Regions from separate parts of the Homo sapiens genome. Here regions 1 and 3 are each linked to region 2. The links are contacts of gene promoters, found by promoter capture Hi-C in blood cells and fetal thymus (Javierre and others, 2016). All regions are on one chromosome and are shown on one strand. The core of a region is centred on a gene start or on the middle of the fragment in contact, and the rest is flanking DNA. Distances in the headings are between cores, read along the strand shown.

Region 1 (4,030 bases), core at 462-2,961, 38 kb after region 2:
TTCAGTATACTGTGCCTTTAGATGAGGGGATGTATCCTTTGGAAGGATCACGGAGCTATTGTCTGGACAGCTCTTCTCCCATGGAAGTCTCTGCGGTTCCTCCTCAAGTGGGAGGGCGCGCTTTCCCCGAGGATGAGAGTCAGGTAGACCAGGACCTAGTTGTCGCCCCAGAGATCTTCGTGGATCAGTCCGTGAATGGCTTGTTGATTGGCACCACGGGAGTCATGTTGCAGAGCCCGAGAGCGGGTCACGATGATGTCCCTCCACTCTCACCATTGCTACCTCCAATGCAGAATAATCAAATCCAAAGGAACTTCAGTGGACTCACTGGCACAGAAGCCCACGTGGCTGAAAGTATGCGCTGTCATTTGAATTTTGATCCGAACTCTGCTCCTGGGGTTGCAAGAGTTTATGACTCAGTGCAAAGTAGTGGTCCCATGGTTGTGACAAGCCTTACAGAGGAGCTGAAAAAACTTGCAAAGCAAGGATGGTACTGGGGACCAATCACACGTTGGGAGGCAGAAGGGAAGCTAGCAAACGTGCCAGATGGTTCTTTTCTTGTTCGGGACAGTTCTGACGACCGTTACCTTTTAAGCTTGAGCTTTCGCTCCCATGGTAAAACACTTCACACTAGAATTGAGCACTCAAATGGTAGGTTTAGCTTTTATGAACAGCCAGATGTGGAAGGACATACGTCCATAGTTGATCTAATTGAGCATTCAATCAGGGACTCTGAAAATGGAGCTTTTTGTTATTCAAGGTCTCGGCTGCCTGGATCTGCAACTTACCCCGTCAGACTGACCAACCCAGTGTCCCGGTTCATGCAGGTGCGCTCGTTGCAGTACCTGTGTCGTTTTGTTATACGTCAGTATACCAGAATAGACTTAATTCAGAAACTGCCTTTGCCAAACAAAATGAAGGATTATTTACAGGAGAAGCACTACTGAAAGATTGAGAACCCTGCATCTTGCACTTTGGGAATAAGAACAAGAGATTGAAATACAGTTTACAAACTTTCATTGCCATCAAAATCTTTTGCTGCCATAACTATTTCAGTTTTATGTGTAAAAGAGTCATCAGTTTGTTTAGGGGTGGGGAAGTGTCAGCAAGGTGTCTTGGGTTTATTTTGGTTCTTTAAAAAAGGGAAGTCTTGAGGTTTTAGAGGTGTGAATTATGTTTCATCAATGTGCAGAATAATCACAATGTGAATTATCAAATTCTCCTCAATGCCCCCCCCGCCCAGTCCTTTGCTGCTATCCACTGTGATTTTTATGCATTAAAAGCACATTTCATGTGTATTCAACCCTAAGTAAAGTTGAATGAAACTTAACAGAATGGAAATTGCTATGTCTTTTTAAATGGTCCATTTTCAAAAGACAGTGTTGAATAAACATACCTGTGTGATAAAACACAGAATTTACATATACACTGAAGATGAGTTTTTAATCTCTTACTTTAAAAAGATTTATTTAGAATCGTGAATTGACATAATCTTGGGTAATGGAACGGAGATCTGCAACATATCTTTTAACAACACTTTTTTCTAAATTATTTCTAAGGTTGTGCTAATTCTTTTGGTTGTGAAAAGTTGAATTTTTCTGTTGCCTTCGTTTTCATCTTCTAGTTTGTCTATTTTAATAAATGGCCTTACATTAAAAAATTGTAAAGAAATGTATACCACCAATTTAGAAATTGTTGCCTTTTCTGTAATTAAACTCGGGTACAAATTGGCATAACATGAAAACCTATGGAACTAGAATTATTATTAAAGAAATATTAGATGATCATAGCTTCCTGTGATAGCATTTTTTTGTGTGTTACCTATCCTTTTGGTAAAATGTTTTATCTGTGATTTCTTTAGCTTAGTCAACATTTTCTTGGGTGAACTTGATTGTCAACTAATTTTCATAAATGGACTGGATTCTCTTGCAACATTAATGTTTATAAAAAGTTTTAAATTGATTTGAATAGAAAGAAAACATTGTTTTAAAGTTGGATTTATATTTTTCTTCTATGTAGTTACTATAAAAGTGTGCTGGATTTGACCAATCCTTACCCCCACTATAAAGAGAACCCGTGATGACTTTAGTTTAAAAATTGTGGAAATTGTGGAGCAATTTTTCTCACAATGTGAGAAAAATTCTAAACCATATTAGATAATGTGGAAGTCATATTGTCTATCATATATACTGCCATTTAAAAATAGGTTTTTAAAATTTAGCTAAGTCTTAAGTAATTTGCCGTTGCTAATAATTTTATCTCCTTGAGTCGGTTGTTGGGGAGAGATGTTATATTCAATAATTTTTAGTTATTTTGTAATGCAGAGTGTTTATTCATTTCACAGTTCTGCAATGGATGTAGTATTTTGGGATTGCCCTGTCCAGAAAATTTTCAGCTACACACCTTTAAAGGAAAATGTTTCTATCTCAGATGAAACATGTAATTTGGGATGGTTCTTCCTTTGTCACTTAAAGGAAGAGATAGGAAAAGTCTCTTACCCACTTTAAACATGAGGGTAAAGGTTTAGGTCAAACTTACTGGCTTTGTCATTCAAGCATATCTGAATCCTCACTTTTTTCTCTTTGCTTTTTAGGGTCAGAACTGAGATATTACCAAGAAAAGGCACAATGCCATAATATTATGGTGTTATGGTATTTTGACTTAAAGGGGAAAAGGTACTTAATTTTGGTGGGATGTTGATTGTACCTTGTTAAAAAGACTCTCATTTTCTCATATGTTTTCTCCTAATAAGATGGAATATGGAGTATACTGTAATAATATAAGTGTTCATTATAAGCTATTTGGATTAAGAACTATTGCAGAGTTGTAAGCTTGTTATCAAATTAATGCAAGACATTTAAACTATTTTTTTGCAAAACTATTTATTTTTAAAACAACTTAAAGTATATCTAGGGTGAGTTAAAAGTCCCTGTGCATCTATATTAGATGGCAGGTTTTGTCACAGAGTCACTGTGTATTAATAATAAATGTTGAAATGGCTTCTCCGTGTCTCCAGAAGCATTTACATGTCCTCCTTGTGAGATCATGGTGCACAGAGGTCTTTGGACTGCCCTGAACCCGTCTTATGTGGACATAACCTATTCCCTTCGTTTTCTCATCATGCCATGTGTTTAAGATCTACCCGCTTAGTGTCAAGATTATTGAGATTTTCATCTAAATGTTTTTAAAATTGTATTTTGTGTTTTAGTGGAGGACAGTCTTGATACTGTTCTAATTCAGAAAGCCAAATTTTGATGCGCTTTTGTATATTCATAATATATACTTTAATATGCCCTATTCTAATCTAGTTTGAAATTGTTAGATTCTGATAGTATAATGATAAAATCAAACTATTTGCCAAAAAGTTAAATTTACAAGCAGAAAGATGTTTTGCGATATTTTCTACTTTTGTGTAGAAAGATAACCATTTGGGGTAGGCAGCACAACAGAATGTGAAAGATTGGCTTTATATGATACTAACACAGTCCAGTTAAAAGTGGAAACAGGGAAAAGAGAGAGAGAAAACTCATCATTTAGTTTGGTCTAGACACAATTTGGTTAAATTTTAGGATTCTATTGGCAGTTAACATAGATGACATGGACACAGCCTATGAGTGCTTTTTAAATACGTGCTTCTAAAAATCTGAGCTCAAAGCAAGAAAAAGAAAACAGGAAAGCTGTATCCATTTGCCATAATAGATGAATCAGAATTGTTTTCTATTAAATATTTCATCACGAAATATGATGGAGGCCAGAAGCTATTTTTAGGCTTACTATAACACTATTATGCATTTTTATAAATAAGAAGAAGGCTGTAGAAAGTACTTGAAAAATATCTAATTCTCTTTCTGTCTAAGGAAAACTCTTTCTACTTGGTGCAATAATCTGAAAATTTAGAAGGTCAAAATATGTCACAGGAAATGATCATAGACCTAAAAATAGTTTTTAAGGAAACCAGCTACACGGGGCAACCAACCATCTTGCTGTTGAAGAAAACAGTTCCAAAAGGCTAAATCATTGGCATAAAGGA
Region 2 (3,805 bases), core at 866-3,365:
TACCTAGATTAGGCCCCTAGGGGTTTTTGTGCATTATTTCATGTAATCTTACAACTATTTGACATAATTAATATCGAGCCCCCTCACTCACCCTTTACAAAAGTAGAAACTGAGGTTCCAACTGAGAAACTTGTTTGAGGTCACACAGCTGTATGACCTGTCAAAACTGTGCTTCTGCACCAGCTCTGCCAGACTCAGAACCCCAGGGTCTTAACCATACATTTAAGTGTCTCCTAAAAGAGTCAACACTTCCCCATCCTGCACAGCCCCATTGCTGCGTGAAAGGCTCACTAACCCCCTGCTGCACAGCTCCTACTGGTTGTCATTTTAGAAAATATAGGGAGACACTGGAACTCCGAGGCAGTAGGATTGAAACGTTTGCTTCTTTTCTTTTTTTTTTTTTTGAGACGGCATCTAGCTCTGTCACCCAGGCTGGAGTGCAGTGGTGCGATCTCGGCTTACTGCAACCTCCGCCTCCCGGGTTCAAACGATTCTCCTGCCTCAGCCTCCTGAGTAGCTGGGATTACAGGCAGCTGCCACCACGCCCAGCTACTTTTTGTATTTTTAGTAGAGATGGGGTTTCACTGTGTTGGCCAGGCAGGTCTCGATCTCCTGATCTTGTGATCCGCCCGCCTCGGCCTCCCAAAGTGCTGGGATTACAGGCATGAGCCACCGTTAATTACTGTTTGTTGTGTTTCCCACTAACTTCTCTGACAATTCTATTTCAACCTACATTCTCCAATCACTGTAATTAGATATTTGAGAATTGTGTTGCATTTCAATCACGGTAACAATAATGGTAGTATTTTATTAATAAATTCAAGTAAAAACTGAAGATGACAATGATAGTGTATGATACATGACATCAACTTTGCATCACCTAAAGATCCAACTTTTCTGTTATGAATCTAGATTTCTTGGGGAAATCCAGATTGTATATTGGACATAGGAATTAAGATTACTGGACTTGAACTTTTTTGTAACTAACAACTTTATTGAGATATAATTCGGGTACCAACTCATACCTGAACAGCTTTTTAGACTTTTTTTCTAGCCCTTTTTTCTCTGTCCTTTCGGTTTTCTTTTAAAAAGGTCCATACTATTCAAGAAACACAACTTTTAAAGTCCACAATAATTCTCATTAGATTTTAATATTTATCTCCCCCCAAGCTTTACTGAAATACTAATGATATTCATTTTTTTAACCACTTTTCATCGTAAGAGAAATACAAATTTTCCTATTGATTCTTATGCACAAAAATCAAGTTTTTGTGGTACTGCTATACATTAGTAGTATGTTCAGCCAGTTTCCAAAGAAATTAGTCAAGATCCCAACATGCAACTTGTATACCACACTACCTTGGAATTCGGCGGCACAAACAACTATTCCTTGTACAAAACCTCCCTGAAAACGACTAAATGGAAAAGTGGATGGCTTGAAACAAGGAATGTTTGGTTTTTTAAAAAGCATTTTTCACAATTTAGTCGAGGTGTGGGGAGGGTTTCCCCACTTGTGGCTCTGCACAGCGTGCGCGCGCGTCTGTCCTGGGGTCCCCTCCCTGCGGGGACGAGGCCGGGGTCCCCGCGCGAGCCCAGCGGACCTGGGCAGTGCGGGGGTCCGACCGCCCGCCACAGGGGGACAGGGACCGCAGCCGCCAAATCCGCGGGGCCGGGGAACGAGGAGACTTTCCTTTCCGCGTTAGCCGGGGCCACCCCCGCCAGAGGGAAAGCACCAAAGGAAAAACCAGGACAGGGACTCTGGGGGCCGGAGGAGCGGCCTCCTGCAGGCACCAGCGGAGGGGCGCGGGGGTGGGGGAAGGGATCAGGGCTCCGCGCTCCGTCCGCCCCACGACCCCGGCCCGGCGCCCCTCCCCTCGGAACCCCCACTTAGTGCCCGGCCCCCGCCCCGCCCCGCGCGGCCCCCGGCCTCAGCCCCGCGCGCCCCGACGCCCCGCCTGCGCCGCGGGCCCGAGTAGTGGACGGGGGGCGGCCCGCTCGGCTCCTCCGCACCCGCTCCCCGCTCGGGCCGAGGCGCCGCGGCCGCGCGCCCCTCCTGGAGGAGGAGGAGGAAGGAGGCGGGAGGAGGAGTTGCCGAGAGGAGAAGGCGAGCGCGGCAGTCGCGCCGGCGCTGGGCGAGGAAGCGGAGCCGGGCCGCCTCCGGGTAAGCGTCCGGGGAGCTCGGGCGGGAGGCAGGGGCAGGGCTTCGCCGTCCGCCTCCGGGTCGCCCGCGGTCCGGGACACGGCTGGTTTTCGCCTCGGAGTGCAGGGGGCGGATCCGGCGCGGGCCGGGCCAGGGAGGCCGCCGGGCGCGGGGCTGCAGCGACGGGTCTGGGTCAGCGCGAGGCCCTGCGCCGTCTCGGCGGGTGCGCGGGCGGGGGCCAGGGCCGGGGAACGGGGGCCGGGGCCAGTCCCGGGAGCGGGGACGCGGAAACCGGGAAGCCGGGGCCGGGGCGCGGCGGCCCCTGAAGGGCCGAGGCCTGCGCGGCCGCGGACGGCTCTTCTCGACCCCTCGGCCTCTTCGGCCGCGGCGCGCCGGCCTGGGCCGCCGCCTTTGTTGCCCGCAGCTCGCCGGGGAGAGGCCGGGGCTCCGCGAGGCCTGGGCAGCGGCGCGGGGCCTGCGCGGCTCTGCGCCCCGGCCGGGTCCCTCCTCGGACCTCCGCGGGCTCGGGCTCGGGCTCGGGGTCGGGGCGCGGCGAGGCCGCAGGCGCGAGGGCGGGCCTGGGGCGCGGCGCTGGGACTCGGGGACGCCCCCGCCCCACCGCGAGGTCGCGCCGGCGCTGGTGGAGGTGCAGGCCGGGGCTGCTCTGCGGCTGAAGGTGCCGCCGGCCGGCTGCGCACTCACCCGGGTGTAGGGACCGGACGATTGTGGAATTTAAACCGCTCCTGGGACCGACACGGGCCTGAATTTTCAGTTTGCTTCGGGAGTTGGCAACTTCAGGTACACCCTTGTGGCTCACGGAGCAGAATTATGGACGTTTCTCAGGGGCAGATCCTGGCACAAAACTTGGGATATGTGCAGTAGTGTGTGTGCCAACTTAACGTTCAGTTGGAATGTGAAATTGGGGTTCCCATCCCCACTGTTTGGAATGAAGGGCCAGGTGGGAATATGTGGCGGGACTCAGTCTTCCGGTAGCAAAATAAATAATGTTGAATTCATTTCAACAAATGTTTCTGCAACGTCTGCCCGGATAAGGCAGCATGCACTGTGCATGAGGACAGAGAACACAGTAATGACAGAAATAACGTGAATTACACACTGAACGTCTCCCAGAGACATTTTAAATTTACTGTGTTCCTTGGGATAAAGATACATTTGGAATCAAACAAAAGTAAACGTTCTACTTCAAGATAAAATATCTGACATCTTCTCAACCACTGAAGGTAGCAATTTATCTTGACTTGTTTTTAACCAACTACCACAACATTAAATCCATTTAGCTTACTTGAATGAACGAATCTTAATTGTAATATTTAATGCTGTGGACAGCCTTACTTAAAAACACGAATGGCATTGCTCACCAGGTTTCACAAAAACCGGAAAAAAAGTCTGTAATACTTTTCCGTGGGCTTTCTAATTTCTCCTCCTAGTGGGTTTTGTGCACGCGTGGATATGGTAAGGTCTAGGATCCATTCAGCTCTAAATTAAATATGTGGCCTTAACCCTTTGGTTCAAACACCCTCCCTAAGCCTGCCTTGGTGCCTTGGAGGAACCTGGTTCGTGGACAGTGGATTTGATAAGGATTCCTAGAAGAACTTCTATCTGGAGTTTGGCCAGGGCTTTCCGCTTGTGCCTGGGTAAGGGTCA
Region 3 (3,908 bases), core at 1,064-3,563, 58 kb before region 2:
TATCCTCAGTGTCAACCACTGGCACCTGACCCAAAGCAGAATGTGTTAATGAATAAATAAATGAATAAAAGAAAGTGTGTTACGATGACAAGGGAGAGGTTGATATTTGTAAATTTACTCTAAGTTTGCCCTGGCAATCAAGACTAGAAAAATATTTAAGATGTGTGTGTGTGTGTGTGTGTGTGTGTGTGTGTGTGTGTGTGTGTGTAAATATATATATGTTAAATGACAGGGAGGGCCGGGCACAGTGGCTCACTCCTATAATCACAACACTTTAGGAGGTGAAGGTGGGAGGATTGCTTGAGCGCAGGAGTTTGAGACCAGCCATAGGGAGACCCCCATCTCTACCAAAATAATAATAATAACCATGGTGCATGCCTGTGGTCCCAGCTACTTGGGAGGCAAAGGTGAGAGGATCACTTGAGCCCAGGAGGTTGAGGCTGCAGTGAGCCATGATCCCGCCACTGCAGTCCAGCCTGGGCAACAGAGAAAGATCCTGTCTCAAAACAAACAAACAAACAAGTCAGGAAGAAGGGAAACAGCATTTCTATTGCATTGTTGTAACTGCCCAGTGGGTTCACCTTACCCACTGCCTAGACAGAGCTGATTTCTCAAGACGGGAATTGCAATAGAGAACGAGAAATTCACTCAGAGCTGGCTGTGCAGGAGACTGGAGTTTTATCACTACTGAAATCAGTCTCCCTGAGCATTTGAGGATCAGAGTTTTTAAAGACAATTTGGTAGGAAGTGAGGGGCAGTGAGTCGGGGAGTGCTGATTGGTTGGGTCGGAGATGAAATCATGGGGCATCACAGTCTTCTTGCACTGTCAGTTCCTGGGTAGGGGTCACGAGTCAGATGTGCCCGTTTCTCCATCTGGATGGTGCTGGTTGATCCATCAAGTGCAGGGTCTGCAAAACATCTCGAGCACTGATCTTAGGAGCAGTTAAGGGAGGGGCAGACTCTGGTAGCCTCCAGCCGCGTGACTCCTAAACCATAATTTCTAATCTTGTGGCCAATGTTAGGGCCCTAGTCCCCAGGCAAGAAGGAGGTTTGTTTTGGGAAAGGGCTGTTACCGTCTTTTTTTTAAACTATAAACTAAGTTCCTCCCAAAGTTAGCTCAGCCCATGCCCAGGAATGAACAAGGATGGCTTGGAGGTTAGAGGCAAGATGGAGTCATTTAAATTGGACCTATTTCACTGTCTCAGTCGCACTTTTGCAAAGGTGGTTTCACTGTTACTATTCATCTCCTTTTGGTCATCTGCTCAGTGTTCTGCTGGGAGCCCTAAGACAAATAAATCATCTCCAACTCTCTCTCTTTTGCCCACCTATCCCCACAGACGCATACTTCTAGTATTTAGGGAGTGTCTTAGTTTGATCTGGCTGACATAACAAAATACCGTAGGCTGGGTGGCTTAAACAACAGAAATTCATTTCTCAAGTTCTGGAGGCTAGAAGTCCAAGATGAAAGTGCCAGCCAATTTGGTTTCCGATGGGAGCTGTTTTATGGATTGCCACCTTTTCACTGTGTCCTCACACAGCAGAGAGAGTGAGCTCTCTAGGGTCTCTTCCTACAAAGACACTGATCCAATCAAATCAGTGTTCCAGCCTTATAACCTCCTTTAACTTTAATTACGTCCTTATTCCACATACAGCCACATTGGGGGTTAGGGTTTCAACATAAGAATTTTGTGGAGGACACAATTCAGTCCATAGCAGGGAGTCAGTACAAAAATCAGCAAATCACTTCTAACCAGTGATGGCTAGAAAATGCTTAACAACTGGCAGGGGGTAGTAAGGGCATAGTGAGGGCTGGTGCAGATTGCGGAAGATTCCTGCAGGAATAGAAGAGCCTAAAATTTCAGAACTAAATGCCTTTGGGCATTAGGACACATTTGAGACACAGAAGGTACTTTTCCAGTACCTTCCATGTCTTACAAGAAGAACCTGAGATCCAGCAAGAAGTGACTCCTTTAGGTCATAGAATTAGTGGCAGAGCTAGGACTAGAAACCAGATCTCCTCATGCCTTCTCTTTGTTGGTGGTTCCCAAAGGTTGGTCTGTGGATATTTTACATAAGAGTTATCTTTCCATATTGATATGGTTTGGCTGTGTCCCCACCCAAATATCATCTTGAATTATAACTCCCACAAGTCGTGGAAGGGACCTAGTTGGAAGTGATTGAATTATGGGGGTGAGTCTTTCCTGGACTGTTCTCATGATAGTGAATGAGTCTCATGAGATCTGATCATTTTAAAAATGGGAGTTTCTCTGCACAAGCTCTCTTTGCCTGCTGCCATCCATGTAAGAGGTGTTACTCTTTGTTACTCCTTGCCTTCCACCATGATTGTGAGGCTTCCCCAGCCATGTGGAACTGTAAGTCCACTAAATCTTTTTCTCTTGGAAATTGCCCAGTCTTGGGTATGTCTTCATCAACAGCATGAAAACAGACTAACACATACAGCATACTATAAAAGAAGGTAAGTGTGTTTACTTATTTTAACTTATTTAGGACTTCTTCCCCTCGTGAATAACATCAAATTAAAATGCCCCATTCCTTTCACATTGGAGAATAGTCTAATCCACACCATCATGTACCACGCCTGTCATTATTCTTCTAATTAAAACCAGTAGTAGGTCTGAGAGGAAAATCAATTGCCAAGGTGGAAAAAGAATAAAAATATTCTTTTTCTCATAACCATAACTTCCTTTAACTTTAACTCATCTAAAAGTAGGCCCACATCTGGTATTTTGTTGCTGTTGTTGTAGAGATAGGGACTCCCTATGTTGCCCAGGCTGGTCTCAACCTCCTGGCCTGAATCAATTTTTCCTTCCACCTTGGCCTCAAAGAGTGTTGGGATTAAAGGCATTAGCCACTGTCCCCAGCAGGTATGATAGTTTTTAAAACTCTAAGGTAGTTTTTAGGCCTTCACCAGAGAAGATAAGGATCTGTAGGGGAGACAAAATTTTCCCTCTACCATCATAGGGTTTTTGGCTAGGTCTGAGAATTAAACTGACATAAAACTGATTAACAGAAGAAAAGCATACAAATTTATTTAGTAAAAGGTTTGCATGACACAGGGGCAAAGGAAATGAAGACTCAACAAAGCAGTGAGAGTCAAACATTTAATACTGAGTTGGACAAAGGGTAGTAGATTGTAAAAACATGACAAGGCAAAGGGGCTTGGGGCAGGGTAATTAACTGGGTGGTGAAGTCACTGGGAAGATAAGGGTTAGTTAATTGAACAAGGTTTGTTTGCACGGATTTCTCTTGGCTTTGCCTTCCCATCCTTGATAACAATAACCTTACTTTCTTCCTGGTATAGGGATTTCCTCCTGGTGTAGGGAAAGCATCTTCCACATGAGAATTTTATCTCCTGCTCACAGGAAGAAAGAGGGGGGTCACAGTGACCCTCTTGCACCTGCTGCTTTTTCAAGTATCTTTAGCTCAAAATAATTCTTATGCCTAAGAGACATATTTTAGGGTGGTATGTCCTGAACTCCTTTGGACCAGCAAAGGTAGGTATCTAAGTTCCAGACGTTCTCTCATTGCCTTCCCCATCAATTATTTACAGATTAAGAAAGAAACTCATATATTCACTGTTGTTCTCTTTGTTAACATTCCTTCCGGTCAGAAGCACAGCTGCTTATTTAAAAAGACCAGAATCCAGGTGTGGTGGCTCATGCCTGTAATCCCAGCACTTTGGGAGGCCAAGGCAGGTGGATCACAAGGTCAGGAGTTCGAGACCAGCCTGGCCAACATGGTGAAACCCTGTCTCTACTAAAAATACAAAAATTAGCCAGACATGGTGGCGGACATCTGTAATCCCAGCTACTTGGGAGGCTGAGGCAGGAGAATCTCTTGAACCCGGGAGGGAGAGGTTGCAGTGAGCCAAGATAGCACCTCAGCAC

The links. Contacts are between HindIII fragments. The CHiCAGO score rates a contact against its expected background, and 5 or more counts as called.
Region 1: a fragment that was not itself captured here is called in contact with the fragment with the promoter of SOCS6 in region 2 in 2 of 17 cell types (M0 macrophages and M1 macrophages); the score reaches 6.7 in M0 macrophages.
Region 3: a contact is called between a fragment that was not itself captured here and the fragment with the promoter of SOCS6 in region 2, in 3 of 17 cell types (M0 macrophages, M1 macrophages and M2 macrophages). The highest score is 10.0, in M0 macrophages.

What each region holds. Positions count from the first base shown.
Region 1 is chr18:70,325,330-70,329,359 of GRCh38, forward strand. SOCS6 (suppressor of cytokine signaling 6) reads left to right here. Exons shown (of 2, transcript NM_004232.4): 2 at 1-4,030. The coding sequence ends at 947. Among named protein-coding and RNA genes, the nearest start is that of LINC01909, 8.1 kb to the right of the region's middle. The HindIII fragment of the contact is 2,236 bases long and covers 594-2,829 here.
Region 2 is chr18:70,286,930-70,290,734 of GRCh38, forward strand. SOCS6 (suppressor of cytokine signaling 6) reads left to right here and starts at 2,116. Exons shown (of 2, transcript NM_004232.4): 1 at 2,116-2,161. RefSeq lists a silencer at 1,952-2,851. The HindIII fragment of the contact is 7,416 bases long and covers 1,169-3,805 here.
Region 3 is chr18:70,229,226-70,233,133 of GRCh38, forward strand. No RefSeq gene overlaps it. Among named protein-coding and RNA genes, the nearest start is that of RTTN, 25 kb to the left of the region's middle. The HindIII fragment of the contact is 4,648 bases long and covers 1-3,908 here.